Regions from separate parts of the Homo sapiens genome. Here region 1 is linked to region 2. Evidence: promoter capture Hi-C in 16 types of primary human blood cells and fetal thymus (Javierre and others, 2016). All regions are on one chromosome and are shown on one strand. Each heading gives the region's core, a stretch centred on a gene start or on the middle of the fragment in contact. The rest is flanking DNA. Distances are from core to core; before and after follow the strand shown. Region 1 has its middle 7.5 kb from the start of RFX7. Region 2 holds the start of MNS1 (meiosis specific nuclear structural 1).

Region 1 (6,554 bases), core at 288-2,787, 220 kb before region 2:
TCAATGCTGTAATGTGATTGAGCTTTCTTTCAGTCTTTAATAGCATTAGAGAGAAGAGGATGTGGGAGGGAGTGAAGAGGAGAAAAATAAAAGCAGCAGCAAGATTACAGAAGAGGGAAGTTGGGGGGTTCAGAACTAAGTTAATATTGGCAAATTTTGATACATGTTCTCAATACCAAGAGTGCTAATGTAAGTATGCTGTGAAAATGTGAATTCTTCTGTTAGAGCACAAATATGTCATTATGTCATTAAAACAATGTATAGCCCAGTGTTAAGGCTAAGTAGCCTAACTATTCAAATACTGTCAAGGCAGCAGACTGTTAACACTGTCACTACCTGGCTATGTGACCCTATCTGTACAAGTCATTCTTTCAAGTACCTTTGCTTATCTCTAAGGATTAGTGGGATAAAGTTCACATAATATACTCAGCTCTTCAAGTGAGTAGTATGATGAAACAAATGCTAGATCCCGCTTTGATTTCACTTAGAAATTTTCCACTGTTGGTACCATATACATGTTTATGTTGTAACTTTCAATTCTTTTACATTAAAGAAGGTTCAAGTTAATATCATCTACATACATTTTAAAGGAAGTGTTTACTTTAACTTGGGCCAAAAAGTCCCAAGTAGAAATTTGATATCTTAGAAATTCAGGAAAGGAGTGGCTGTGAACAGAAGCAGATAAAGAAAAACACTAAATTGTGACACTAAAAGTGTTTTAGTTATTTACTTAACACTAAAAGTGACAATGAAAAGACACCAGAGCCAATCCCACAGTGAGGAAGTCAGTGCCAGTGCAGTCTGAACAGGTGGGGCCTAACCAATAATTCACAAGGTCGATCATTCCTCCATTCCTTTCAAGGCACATTCGAGAACCTGCTATGTACAAGTTACTATATTGGGACCTTAGAAAGATTAAAAAATAAGTAGTAAAATATTGTTCTCATTTTCAAGAAGCTCATAATCTAATTGGAACACTACACATGTCAGCCCATACATATTTTTAAAAGTGAAATAAAAACACAAAAAACAAACAAAAGGTGTGTGACAGGATAATTTATTGAGCTATTTATTTGGGTTTTATGCTCCTTATATTTTCCCTCCCTTCCATTCCAAGCAGGCTTCAAGGGAACTTTGTGTTACTAGGCAGAAAGTTGTCTGACAAGAGCTCTCTCTTAGGCAACTCCAGGGGGCACCATTCACATTTTAAATGAAGCCTCCTGGAACAGGACTCCTTAGAATGCAGTGTCAATGTTATTTCTGGAATTGGACCCAGCAATCTGTCTTTCAAGTTTGTTGCTCCTTGAGGAGATGTTGCTAGGGGGTTAAAAAGGTAAGCACATCTGGGGAGAGAGAGAGAGGGAGGGAGGGAGGGAAGAAAGGAGGGAGGGAGGGAAGGAAGGAAGGGGCGCTGAGACAGGTGGATCACAAGGTCAGGAATTCAAGACCAGCCTGGCGAAGATGGTGAAACCCCGTTTCTACTAAAAATACAAAAATTAGCCGGGCATGATGGCAGGTGCCTGTAATCCCAGCTACTTGGGAGGCTGAGGCTAAGGCAGAGAATTGCTTGAATCAGGGAGGTGGAGGTTGCAGTGAGTCGAGATTGTGCCACTGCACTCCAGCCTGGGCGACACAGTGAGGATCTGTCTCAAAAAAAAAAAAAAAAAAAAAAAAAAGAGGAAAGAAGAAGCATCTATGGGCAGGTGGAATTACAGAAAAAAAAATTCCCATGAGCTGTAGAAAATCAAAGATTGGGGTTCCAGTAGTAAGAATAAGAGTACCCCAGGGAGATACTCTAACCTCATATGGATGCACAATGCCATTAGGGAGGCTGGATTCCCTTGCCTCTCTTGGCCCATAAGTGGAGGAATTGCCAGTGAGGATGTCAAAGTCCATCTTCCATTTTCTAGGCTCAACATAAGTCTTTCAAACCCTACTGCAGTACTAGGAAGAGAGGAAAGCCCAGTAAGAACTGAGATTGGATTTCCTTCTACTCCAGCAGAATTAAGGCTGAGATCACTTAAGTCTGTGGTAAATTTAATTTGATTTAAAGAATAGTGACATGTCTTGCACACCCAAATTTGTACTTGCAAATTTATACTTCCTAGTGGTGGATGCTATATAAAAAAGACACTGGTAGGTGAGATATATAAGATTAAAAACCAGTGAATGGCGTAGCTAATAACTGCTAAGGAAGTTTAGAGAAAGAGCAAAAGGAGCTAAAGTTAAAAGTGGCGTGGAGGACTTGGGATGGAGCTAGAGTGTGAGTAAAATGAAGGATTTATAAAGGTGGGAGAAAGAATGGAGACAAGTCCGAAGGGAAAGGCAGTGTGAGTAGAAGCAGGAAAACGAGCATGCAAATGACAAGACACACAGAAGACTGGTCTAATTGGAGTGAACAGCTGATGATAAAGGTTATATGGGGTACCAAATTCCGAGTGTATTCAAGCTAGTCTGAGGAGTTTGTGCTTCCATACTGTGTACAAAGCGAGGTTCTACGAGAGAACAAGTAGTAGGAGATATATATTTTATATTTGTATGTTTACATATTTTAAAGGAATTGGCTTATGTGATTGTGAGGCTGGCAAGTCTGAAATCTGTAGGGAAGGCCAAAATGCCTTGCATAGTGGATGCTGCAACCCACAGGTGAAATTTCTTCTTCCTTAGGGAAAAAAAAAAACAAAATAATTCAGTTTTGCTCTTAAGACCTTTCACCTGATTGGATGAGACCCACCAAAATTATTTAGGATAATCTACTTAAGTCAACTGATTGTAGCTAATTAACCACATCTGCAAAATACGTACCTTTACAGCAACATCCAGCTTAGAGTATGATTTGAATAGCTGGGTATGTGTCAACTTGGCTAGGCCAAGGAACCATGACACTTACCACACTCTGTAAGTCACTCCTCATGTATTTGAGAAGATGTCTTTGGATTTTCTTTATGTGGATCTCAGGAAAGGTAATTTCTTATGAAGTGGGCCAACCTGTCTCCTTTCCAAGAATAGATCTACTTTCTCTGCTCTTCCCTGTACATAAATGTTTATTCCCAAGGATGAATTTCTATTTTTCTTCATCCCTTTTTCCCTTACCATCTCCTGAAGTTATGCCAGTGTTATATTGTGGCTGATGTTAGTATGTTTTTGTTTTCTCCGTTTAAAATGCCTCTAATTATGCCTGTAGTGTCATTCTCCTAATTCAGCAAAGCCTCAGGTTGTCGGCCATATCCACAGTCACCCTCCAAGCCTGGCTCTGTTGATGTAAGCTTCCATCCTTGTCTCTTGTAACCCTGGCCCCCTAGTTGGAACAGGGCTCAACATTTGACACCATGACAATCAATCTTCCGGCTAGACAGTGGCTTATGAGCTGACTCAATAAAACCTTTGCCCAAGGAAGATGTTAGTAATTAGCTAACGGATTGATTCCTTTTTTGGAGAGTATGAATATGATAAGGAGAGAAGGTTAGGCAGTTGGGAGTAAAAACAGTAGCTGAAAGATACACAAGAGAAAGCTAACCTCAGAAACCATTAGACAACAACCAGAAGAGGCAATGATTAAGCAGAAACTGTGTGAAGAGGAGCTCAGAGGGCTTAAAGAAGATAAGATAATGGCTTAGTGTTGATAGGAGCAGTAGGCCCAGGGAATGATAGAAGCTGAGTAAATTTCCTCATGGAGCACCAGAGAAAGCAGGTGCAAATGAAGAGGAATGGATTATTGGCCAGGCCTTGGGGAAATTCAGGATAACCACCCAGAAATCCAGGAACAGACATACAAGCGACGGCATAGAAACTTAAGGGGAGCTGGGGAGTGAAAAGTTTGTTTAGGCTCCAGTGCAGCTCTAGCAACTGAATTATCTTCTCAGACACTCAGGAGAAGACTTTCATTACTTCCTTAGTTTAGTGTGATTTTCTCCTCCCCCAGAGAGTCTTACACATAAAGTTATGGTGTGAAGGGCTCACTCTTTTGTCAAGAATTGCATCCTCTCAGCAGTTTTCCCTTATCCATTCCCTACCCACTCCCAGCCAGTTTGTGTTAGCTGTCTCTTTTCTGTGGCTCTGTGGTACCTTGTACAGCCTTATGTCATACTATCTCATTGTAGGCTAATTGTAGGTTTGTTTGCCTATTTCTTGCATCTACACTCCCTCTACCTGACTTCCAGTACTACAAACTATATTTGGTCAGGAAGTATGTTTTTAATCTTCTCTATATCTCCAACATATACTATAGTCACTCCCACAAAGTAGCCAAACAATGAATGTTTGTTGAATTGAGCTATTAGAAAAACCTTTTTTTTTTTTTTTTGTCCAGGCCACAAAATAAAAGCAGAATGTCAGAAAAAGCAGAATGGGCTAATAAGAAAGCTCAATATCTTATTCATAATAATGGTGTAGGAGCTGAGAACATAGTTAATTTGTACTTAAAATTCATGTCTCCATGACTTTACAAAAATTTTTCAAGCAGCCAACTGTGTCTGTTCAGCCTGACATCTGGTGCTACAATTCTCCAGATTTAAAGGTACTCTGGCCAGCTTTGTTCCTTTTAAGGAAAAGAGTCTGCTGCGTGCTTCCTGTAACCTCTAGTTTCTTATCTGAATTCAGATCCACACTCTTGGGCAGATGAGGCTTGAGGCTGACCCTCATGGAGATCCCCCGGGCTTCCAAATTTAGAGTCTAGGATCCAAATCTCAGCTCTACCACTTGCCATTTTTGTGATCTCAGGCAAGTTCTTTGCTTCTCTGAGCCTCAGTTTTCCAATTGGTAAAAGTGGGGATAATAACTCCTTCACTCAGTTGTACTGATAATTTAATGAAAAATATTTCTGAAAATACTCCACACAATGCTTTACACATAGTAAAAGCCAAATAAATTATGAATTTCCCTTCCTTTTTTTCTGGAAGGTAGAGAGGAGAAGGGAAGGAATAGATTGATGGCAGGGGATAAGGGCCCTAAAAATGACAGGAGTCCTGAAAACCAAAAGTGGTGGCAGCCTAGTTTTTACATGCCACTACTTTATAGTCTGATAAAGCACAGGTCATGATCACTAAAAGCCACACGGCACCTAAGATAGCTGCTGCAAGAAATTCCTTGATCAGAGCACAGAAGGACATTCAAACTCTGCGTGTTTGAAATGCACAAAGCAGATAGGGAAAGAGGCACCATTGGATGGCAAGAAGAAAAAATTTTGCCTACACCAAGCAAAAAAACCCCAAAAATCATAAAACAAGGAGAGGTTCAACACATGCTATGTCAGAGAGTCCTGGGAGTGTACAGAGGTGTCTGACTTTAACCCCCTCCAAATATCAACCCCAGAACTGAAAAAGGAGAAAGAACGGAAGGTCTTCATAATCAGTTGGAAAATCTTACACAATATTTATAGGAACTTTAAACACGTATCCCTTCTGAGGTCCCTAAAGAAAGCCAAATGACACTAGCTATTCAGGGACTCAAAACCCCAAATAATATTAGAGATGAGGGTCTGTGCTTTCTAGCTACTCTCAGAAGGGTTCTCTTAGTGAGTATTAAAGCTGTTAAAGTTAGCTCTTGATGTACTCTGAACAGGCTACTCAGCAGTCAGGAATTGAGGTATGGCAGGGAGGGAGTAGAATTCCATAACAGGATGAGCTTGTTAGCCAAATCTGACTGAAAATGTCACTTATCGCTGCCCAATGTATAAGGTGGAAAAAGTGGCTAAAAATTACAGCTCTTCACAATCAGTGTCTCCCACTCCCATGAAAGAACATTAAAAAAAAATGGAATAGACTACCCAATGTGTTGTTAAAGGCAAGTGACTTGAGACTTGCCCCTCAGAGAATTGTTGGAATAGGGCTTCACTTTTCTCTCTGTGTCAAAGAAACTTTGAGTATCTTTTTAAATGTTTTGAAATAAAAATGGCAAGAACATAGGTTATCACCCACAAATTACATTTAATGGTGTTTTGAAAGAGTTAATTCAAAAATCCTGTGTATGAAGAGTAAATCAAGATGCCAGCCTGCAGGAAAGTTACCTCTACCAAATCTTATGAAATGACAGAAAAGATTAAAGGGGGTGAGGTTAATTGGTAACAGGACAGGGGACAAGAAAAATGCCGTAAGTGTATGAGAAATTTTCAGGAGATGGGATCAGACTTTAGAAAAACATACTAGAGCAACTGTGCCGTACATTTGGCTCTAGATTGCTGAGGAGGTAGGATAAATTTCAGGGATGCTACAAGCTCAGAGAGAACAGGTTCTATGAATAGGACATCCTAGGGTAATGGCCAGAGTGATTAACTGAAACACTGCATTTGGAGCAGCTGGACTGCTACTCACATTCCCTTCTTTTGCTTGTAATTGTCCACAGATTAAGTAGTGAGCCTGTGGATTCTGAGAGCCAACAGACAGAAGAGTAGCAGTGGACCCCAGGAGGCACAGGGAGGCTCCTCACTCTGAAAAGAAACACTCTCCCCAGCAATATGCCCTTCCCTTCACCTATAATCACAAGTTGACCCACATCAAGCAGAAGGAGAGAGCTAACAGGGATTCTTATTTATAAAGTAAAAGAATAATCCAATACAA
Region 2 (7,119 bases), core at 3,966-6,465:
AGAGGTTGTGGTGAGCCAAAATTGCGCCATTGCACTCCAGCCTGGGCAACAAGAGCGAAATTCTGTCTCAAAAAAAAAAAAAAAAAAAATACATATATATATATATATATATATGTGACTATAGTTTATTCAAATGCAAAGCTTGAGGACAGCCACTCAGGAAACACAAACTCCAAAATAATGGGTCATTGTTCCAACGTGGGGAAGTTAAGGTTTCACTTATATAGGCAGAGACAGAGAAGCTTAACAGGGTTGCAACATTTTCCATATAAGGTCAGTATACATATTATAGCAATTTAATTAGTTGCATTCCAAGGAACATTCCATGAGAAAGGGTAATGATCTTGAGGGGTCTTATCTCTGGTGTCTTTCCTAATCATTTACAGAACAAGAATAAGGAAGATTTAATCTGTAATTGGAAAAGCAGAAGTTGTAGCAGCATGCTATGTGACTCAGGACACATAGCCACATTCCTCTCAAGGCTAAAAACTAAGGATACATGACAACTAAATGCAATCTATGGTCCTCAAGTAGCAAAAACACATTAGTGGACAAACTGATGAAATCTGAATAAATCTCACAGTTAACAGTATTCCATGAAAGCTAAATTCTCCATTTTGATAACTTTTCCATGATTTTCATCTGTGTAAGATGTTAAGAAGTAGTCAGGTGAAGGGTATATGTGAATTCTCTACACTGTTTTTGCAACTCTCCTATAAATCTAAACTTATCTCAAAATAATAAGTTAAAAATATGCATATTTCCAAGATTTGTTCACTGAAAAAACCTGGAAGCAATGATAACCCAAGAATTATGAGTAAACCTAGCACCCAAGTTTTCTTGAAATATTATTTCCACTAAATGATAACAGCGCTTCCTGGCACAATGGCTGATTCCAGGTGTAGGACAAAAAATATAAGAGAGAAATTTTGTATTTGTCAGGGTTCTCCAGAGTAAGTGATTATGAAGGCAGGCAAGTTCTAAGATCTGCAAGGTGAGCTGGCAAGCTGAGGAACTAATGGTTTTGTTCTAGTTTGAGTCCTAAAGCCTGAGAACCAGCAGGCTCAAGACCCAGAAAGAGCCAATGTTTTAGTTTGAGTTCAATGACTAGAAAAAAAGGAAATGTCCCAGCTGAAAGGCAATCAGGCATGAAGAATTCTGTCTTATTCAAAAGAAGGTCAGTCTTTTTGTTCTATTCAGGCCTTCAACTGATCGGATGAGGCCCACCTATATTAGGGAGGGCAATGTGCTTTATACTCAGTCTATGGATTTAAATGCTAATCTCATCCAAAACAACCTCACAGAAACACCGAGAATGATGTTTTATCAAATACCTAGAAACCCCAAGGCCCAGTCAAGTTGACACATAAAATTATCACAAGCCTAGAACAGTTTGTTTTGACAAAAAGCAAGGAAGGTATCAAAGATTAAGGAAATATTGTCAAAAGGACACAGAGGGCCAGGTGCAGTGGCTGACACATGTAATCCCAGCACTTTGGGAGGCCGAGGCAGGCAGATCACTTGAAGTCAGGAGTTCAAGACCAGCCTGGCCAACATCGTGAAACCCCATCTCTACTAAAAATACAAAAATTAGCCTAGCATGGTGGTGCAGGCCTGTAATCTCAGCTACTTGGGAGGCTGAGGGAGAAGAATCTCTTGAACCCAGAAGGCGGAGGTTGCAGTGAGCCGAGATGGTGCGGCTGCACTCCAGCCTGGGAGACAGATGAAGACTCTGTCTCAAAAAAAAAAAAAAAAAAAAAACGACACAGAGGCAATATAAAAGGGCATCCATTGGCCAAGGATGAGATAATTTGAGCATCAAAAATAATAATAAATGCAATTAAGTACATAAATATCTATGAGTCCATAAAGGTATTTTTAAAAAGAGACAAAGTCAAAAACTAAATAAAACAAAAATTTAAAAACAACCACAACATAGGTAGACACCAATGGAAGAAAATAGGACACCAATTCCTTACTCTGAAAATTAACTGTCTCCTTTTTCAGTAAGAATAAATAACCCTAGTCAATAACAAAGTGTTTTTTTGTTGTTGTTTTTTTTTTTTTTTTTTTTTTTTTTTTTTTTTTTGTGGGGTGGGGGCAGGGGAACAGGGTATCTGTCATTCAGGCTGGAGTGCGGTGGCAAGATCATAGCTCACTGCAGCCTTGAACTCCTGGGCTCAAGAGATCCTTCCATCTTGGCCTCCCAAAGTGCTAGAATTATATGGGTGAGCAATTGTGCTGGCCCAAGGTGAAGTTCTTTACAGAGGAATTTCAGCTAATTAAATGTGAAAGGAATAAAAGAATCAGAAAATCAGTTTTTGTAACCACTAATGAAAGAAAAAATTCTTTTGTGAAACCACAGATGAAAGTTTGATGGGAACCTTTACAGTGGAGAAACCAGACTGTCTTCCTAAACCCACTGATCAATACTGGCATCACTAAAAGTGGAACAACCAGACCTCATGTGTTCCCTGTTGTGACACAATGACAAAGACAGCATCACCTATGGAGTATTCTTGCCAAAAAAGGTGGACCGCAATCTAATTGTGTCTTTATGGCTAGGTTCTATTTAGAGGAAATATAACAGATAGGGAAATAAATTAAAGGAACATGAGGAAGCAAACACGTATATTCAGAATGTGGGCTACTGGATAAAACAACTGGCTTAGTTTAGCAAGCTAAAAACATGAAGTCAAAAAAGAAAAACACGGTGAAGGAGGGGCTGTTTTCAATTAAGAGGGACTTAAACAGACATAACCACCAAATACACCGTATGAATGTTCCTTGGATCTTGGTTAAAACAAACCAACTGTAAAAGCAGATTTTTGACACAATCACAGAAATGTGTTTATGGAATGGGTGAGATAATAGTATTATGGTACTCCATGTAAGAAAACATCCATATTTTGTTAGATGTACACTTAACTATGTAGGAAAGAGTTGGTGTGATACCTGGGATATTCTTTCAAATTAAAGAGAAAATAATAAGAATAGGAAAAATATCCAACCCCTAAGATGTGCTTTCTCAGAGTTAAAAAAAAAAATCATATCTAAGCTTTTGAATTTGGAACACAGAAGGGTGGATATCATTTTTTAAATTTGCTTTTGTTATTCTCCACAAAATCCTCCAAAATGTTTAACATACAGCAGCTACTCAAAAACTACTGACATATCAGAATACCTTTTATATATTTATGAGAATTCACTTCTATCATGTCTCAATTCTTATTAGTTTCCCTTTTCTACCACCTTAATCCCTTAAAATGTTGAGATATACCTAAGGGTTCATTTTCTACCACTTAATAATGTATACATTAATTTCAGTAAATTTTTTAAAGGCACCCCTAAATTTTTGTTTTTAGAAATTTATGAAAGGCAACACAATTGTACTTACATGAACAAAACTGGTAGTAATTACAGAGTTCATATTTATGTTAAAAAAAAATCTGAGTGCTTATTCTGTACCAGGCACTATTCCAAGAGTCTTGCATGTATTAACTCATTATTAAAACAATCCTAAGTAGGAGGTACTATTCTTATTCCCCATTTTATAGAAAAAGCATAAAAAATAAAAGCAGGCTGGGCGCGGTGGCTCACCCCTATAATCCCAGCACTTTGGGAGGCCGAGGCGGGCGGATCACGAGGTTAGGAGTTCGAGATCAGCCTGGTCAATATGGTGAAACCCCGTCTCTACTAAAAATTAAAAAATTAGCCAGGCGTGGTGTTGCGCGCCTATAGTCCCAGCTATTCAGGAGGCTGAGGCAGAAGAATCGCTTGAACCCCGGAGGCAGAGGTTGCAGTGAGCCAAGATCGTGCCACTGCACTGCAACCTGGGCGACAGAGCAAGACTCCATCCAAAAAAAAAAAAAAGTAAAAGCAACTTACTCAAGGGTCCGTAGCTAAGGTATAGCAGTAGTAGGATTCAAAGACAGGCCGGCTCCAGAAACCCAGGTCTTTACGATTACACCGAGCTGAGGCACAATCAGGCATCACTTACCTGCTGCTGTTGTTTATCTACTCATTTCCAGCATTAACAGCTGACTTTCATCGTTTCCAAGGTGCAAAATGAAAAAAAAAGTAACAATGAATAGTAAAACTTACCTTTTGAATGGCCTCTTCCATATCCAACTCAAATTGTTCATTTTGTAATAATCTGAGAAATTGCTTGCGCTGAACACGGTTATCATTTTCATTCTGCACCATTTGATTCCTGATTTGACTGTTGACGTTTTTTAGAGCTTGGACATGTAATTTTTTGCAGTAGTTTTCATCTACTAATTTCTGATGCCTTTCACTACAGCTCAAATTTCTCCTTTTGGAACCCTACGATGGAAGAAAAAAAAAGATGCATATTTTGATATTCCAAAATCTAATTTTAAAAAATGTATTGATATAAACCTTAGTAAGAAAGGATACGAAGAGCCTGGCTTCCTTCCTAAATTCAAAGGAGTATACCGAATAAAAAGTAAACGTGGTAAATATGTTCACATATCGATTAAATAGGTACTGTTATTATTACCTATTTTATAGATGAAACATGAAAAGTAACTTTACCCAAGGTTCTGCAGCTAATAAATAGCTGTGCTAGGATTAATCGCACCCTACAGACCCAGATCTTTACTACCACCAGGGAATTTCTCCTCCCCTCATTCCACCCACCACCACCACCACCACGACTACCACCACAGGGCCATAAAGTGCTGTTCAGAAGCTGGTCAGATTTTCCTAACATAAATGTAATAGGTCAATTCGCCGCTATTTATCAATTCGCTTTCTCCTACACTTTTATATCTACTTATTTCTTCAGAGGTTCTATTGGGCAGATTTAAAGATGTATTTAATACACTATGCGAAAAGTGCCAAAAAAGCTGGAAACCACCGCGAGCGTCCCTTCTAATAGCACCTGAAGCCTCCGAAAGCAAATACAAGTTCCCCAATTAATGACCAGATTAAGCACTTAAAATCCTTTTTTAGAAGCAGATGAGCGCCAAACTAGAATTAAATCAACAATAAACAAGTAGTTTCAAGTCCCCCAACTGGCTCACCATCTTGGCTGACGAAAAATACCCCCTCTCGTGGGACCGCGGCCACCACCTCCCGCCGCAAACGCAGCAGCCAGCAGCCCCAAGGAGCGCACCTGGCTGCGCGCGCTCGGGTGTTTACGCGGCGTCTTGGCAACGGTGGAGCTGCGCGCCCTCCGCTCGACCAAAAGTGACCCACGCAGAACGTGGCCTCCCATTGGACGCGATAAGATACAATCGGCATTGAGCTTCTTAGGACCAGGGCAGGAGGGCTACTTCTATAGGTCTAAACTAGAAAAGCGGGAAGTTCAGACTGTGGCCTGACCCAAGCACTTTGCAGTGGGCTAGGGAAGCTCGATTTCCCTCCAGCGGCCGAACTGTGGTTTCAGTGGGTTTGGGAGCCAAGTTCGGGACTGTGGAGACTGCGCACAGAGAAATACGCAAACTACTGCCTAATGCATGGAGCCGAAGGAAATTTCCACGCATGGAGCATCCCGCACACTAAGTGCCTAGTCAGCCAGGTCTCTGCTAGGGACGATGACTGGTTTAATCCTCAGCAATGGGAGTCCAGGTCGCTGTCCCCTTTGCTGGGTTGTGAGGCACTGAGGGTAGCACGAGCTTCCAGCAGCCTTCACTTCACCCCCCCGCCCCCCCCCCCCCCCCGCAGAAGCTGCTGGTAAATTTTGGGACTAAAATCTATGAGCCACATGAATCTTACTCTGCTATGTGGTCCAGGTACCAAGAGAGAGCACGTTACATGATGGCAGGATGTTGATCTGGTTCATTCCATAGGCAGGTTAGACACTAAAGTCCATTTTAAATGGGAAGTTTAAGAATGATAATGGATCAGAGAAATTAGATATACTGATTTTAGAAATGATACATTCAGAGAAATCTTGTCAACACTAAAATATTTGTATAAGGTGATTAGTGGTATAACTTTGTGTTATTCTAATTTGGAGTCCGTCTTCTGTAGCAATATGTCTGCTTAAAGATTAATAACAAATGGGACTTGCAGTTTCAGTGCTGACGTGTAAAAGCTTGGAAGTTGTCACCCCATCCTTACAACCAGATCAAAACAACTAAAAATCAGCGACTTCTCTTGGTTCCATCATACAACTGAGGTCGCTCGTCTCTCTGTCCTTTGGTCATTTATCCCGTGGTTGCATATCTATGTTGTCTCTAGTACTCCACTCATTGCCATCACTGTTTGAGAGAAATGGAGAGAAGGCGTAAACCTGCCCTCTGGGTGTTCTGTGTAAATTGATCTGGAATGGAGCAAAGCAGGCAGCCTGCTATAAATTTCTCTTCTTGGCATATCCATCTCCGCAAAGGGTTGGGCACTGTATAGAAGAGACAGGAGACAGGCATGGGTTCAGGGTTGAACAGGGTATAACACATTCAATAGAGTGTGGGGTTTAATTTGTTAATTCCTAATAGTGAAATAGTGACATTGCAAAGTATTTCAGCAAACATGTATGTTTTTTACTGTTTACTTCTCGAAATGAAGACTTTCGTCTCTAAAGGGAACTTCAGTTATAATTCCTCATTTCCAGTATACCCTTGGATATGGTAGAAGGATTCATATAATTTCATAGGTAATCTGAGAAAAAGATTTTTGGCCAGAATATTGACCTAAATCCAAGACAAATTTAATCAATTGTAACAATTAGCTGATTTTAACCTTTAAAAAATTATCCTAACAATTACTACATTTTTAATAGACTTTGCTCCTTTTTCGAAGCAGTTTTAGGTTTACAGAAAAATTGACAGAATACAGAGAATTCCCCGTCTCACCTCTCCTCCCCACCGCACCCATACAATTTCCCCTATTTTTAGCATTACATATTAGTGTAGTACATTTGTTACACTTGACGAACCAATATTAATATGATTAAGTTCGTAATTGACATTAGGGTTCACTCTTTGTTTTGTACAGGTCTATGAGGATTTGTTTTGTTTTTTTTCTGAGATGAAGTCTGGCTATGTTGCCCAGTCTGTAGTGCAGTGACATGATCTCGGCTCACTGCAACCTCTACCTCCCAGGTTCAAGCGATTCTCCTGCCTCAGCCTCCCAAGTAGCTGAGACTACAAG

Evidence for each region. The method cuts DNA at HindIII sites, captures the fragments that hold promoters and counts their contacts. A CHiCAGO score of 5 or more calls a contact.
Region 1: a contact is called between a fragment that was not itself captured here and the fragment with the promoter of MNS1 in region 2, in 2 of 17 cell types (erythroblasts and megakaryocytes). The highest score is 7.6, in erythroblasts.

What each region holds. Positions count from the first base shown.
Region 1 is chr15:56,248,093-56,254,646 of GRCh38, forward strand. It overlaps a transcript of TEX9 not described here. Among named protein-coding and RNA genes, the nearest start is that of RFX7, 7.5 kb to the left of the region's middle. The HindIII fragment of the contact is 3,453 bases long and covers 1-3,264 here.
Region 2 is chr15:56,459,922-56,467,040 of GRCh38, forward strand. It overlaps MNS1 (meiosis specific nuclear structural 1), which reads right to left and starts at 5,216. Exons shown (of 10, transcript NM_018365.4): 1 at 5,049-5,216; 2 at 4,105-4,326. The coding sequence starts at 5,051. It also overlaps a transcript of TEX9 not described here. RefSeq lists a silencer at 5,146-5,395. The HindIII fragment of the contact is 3,006 bases long and covers 3,057-6,062 here.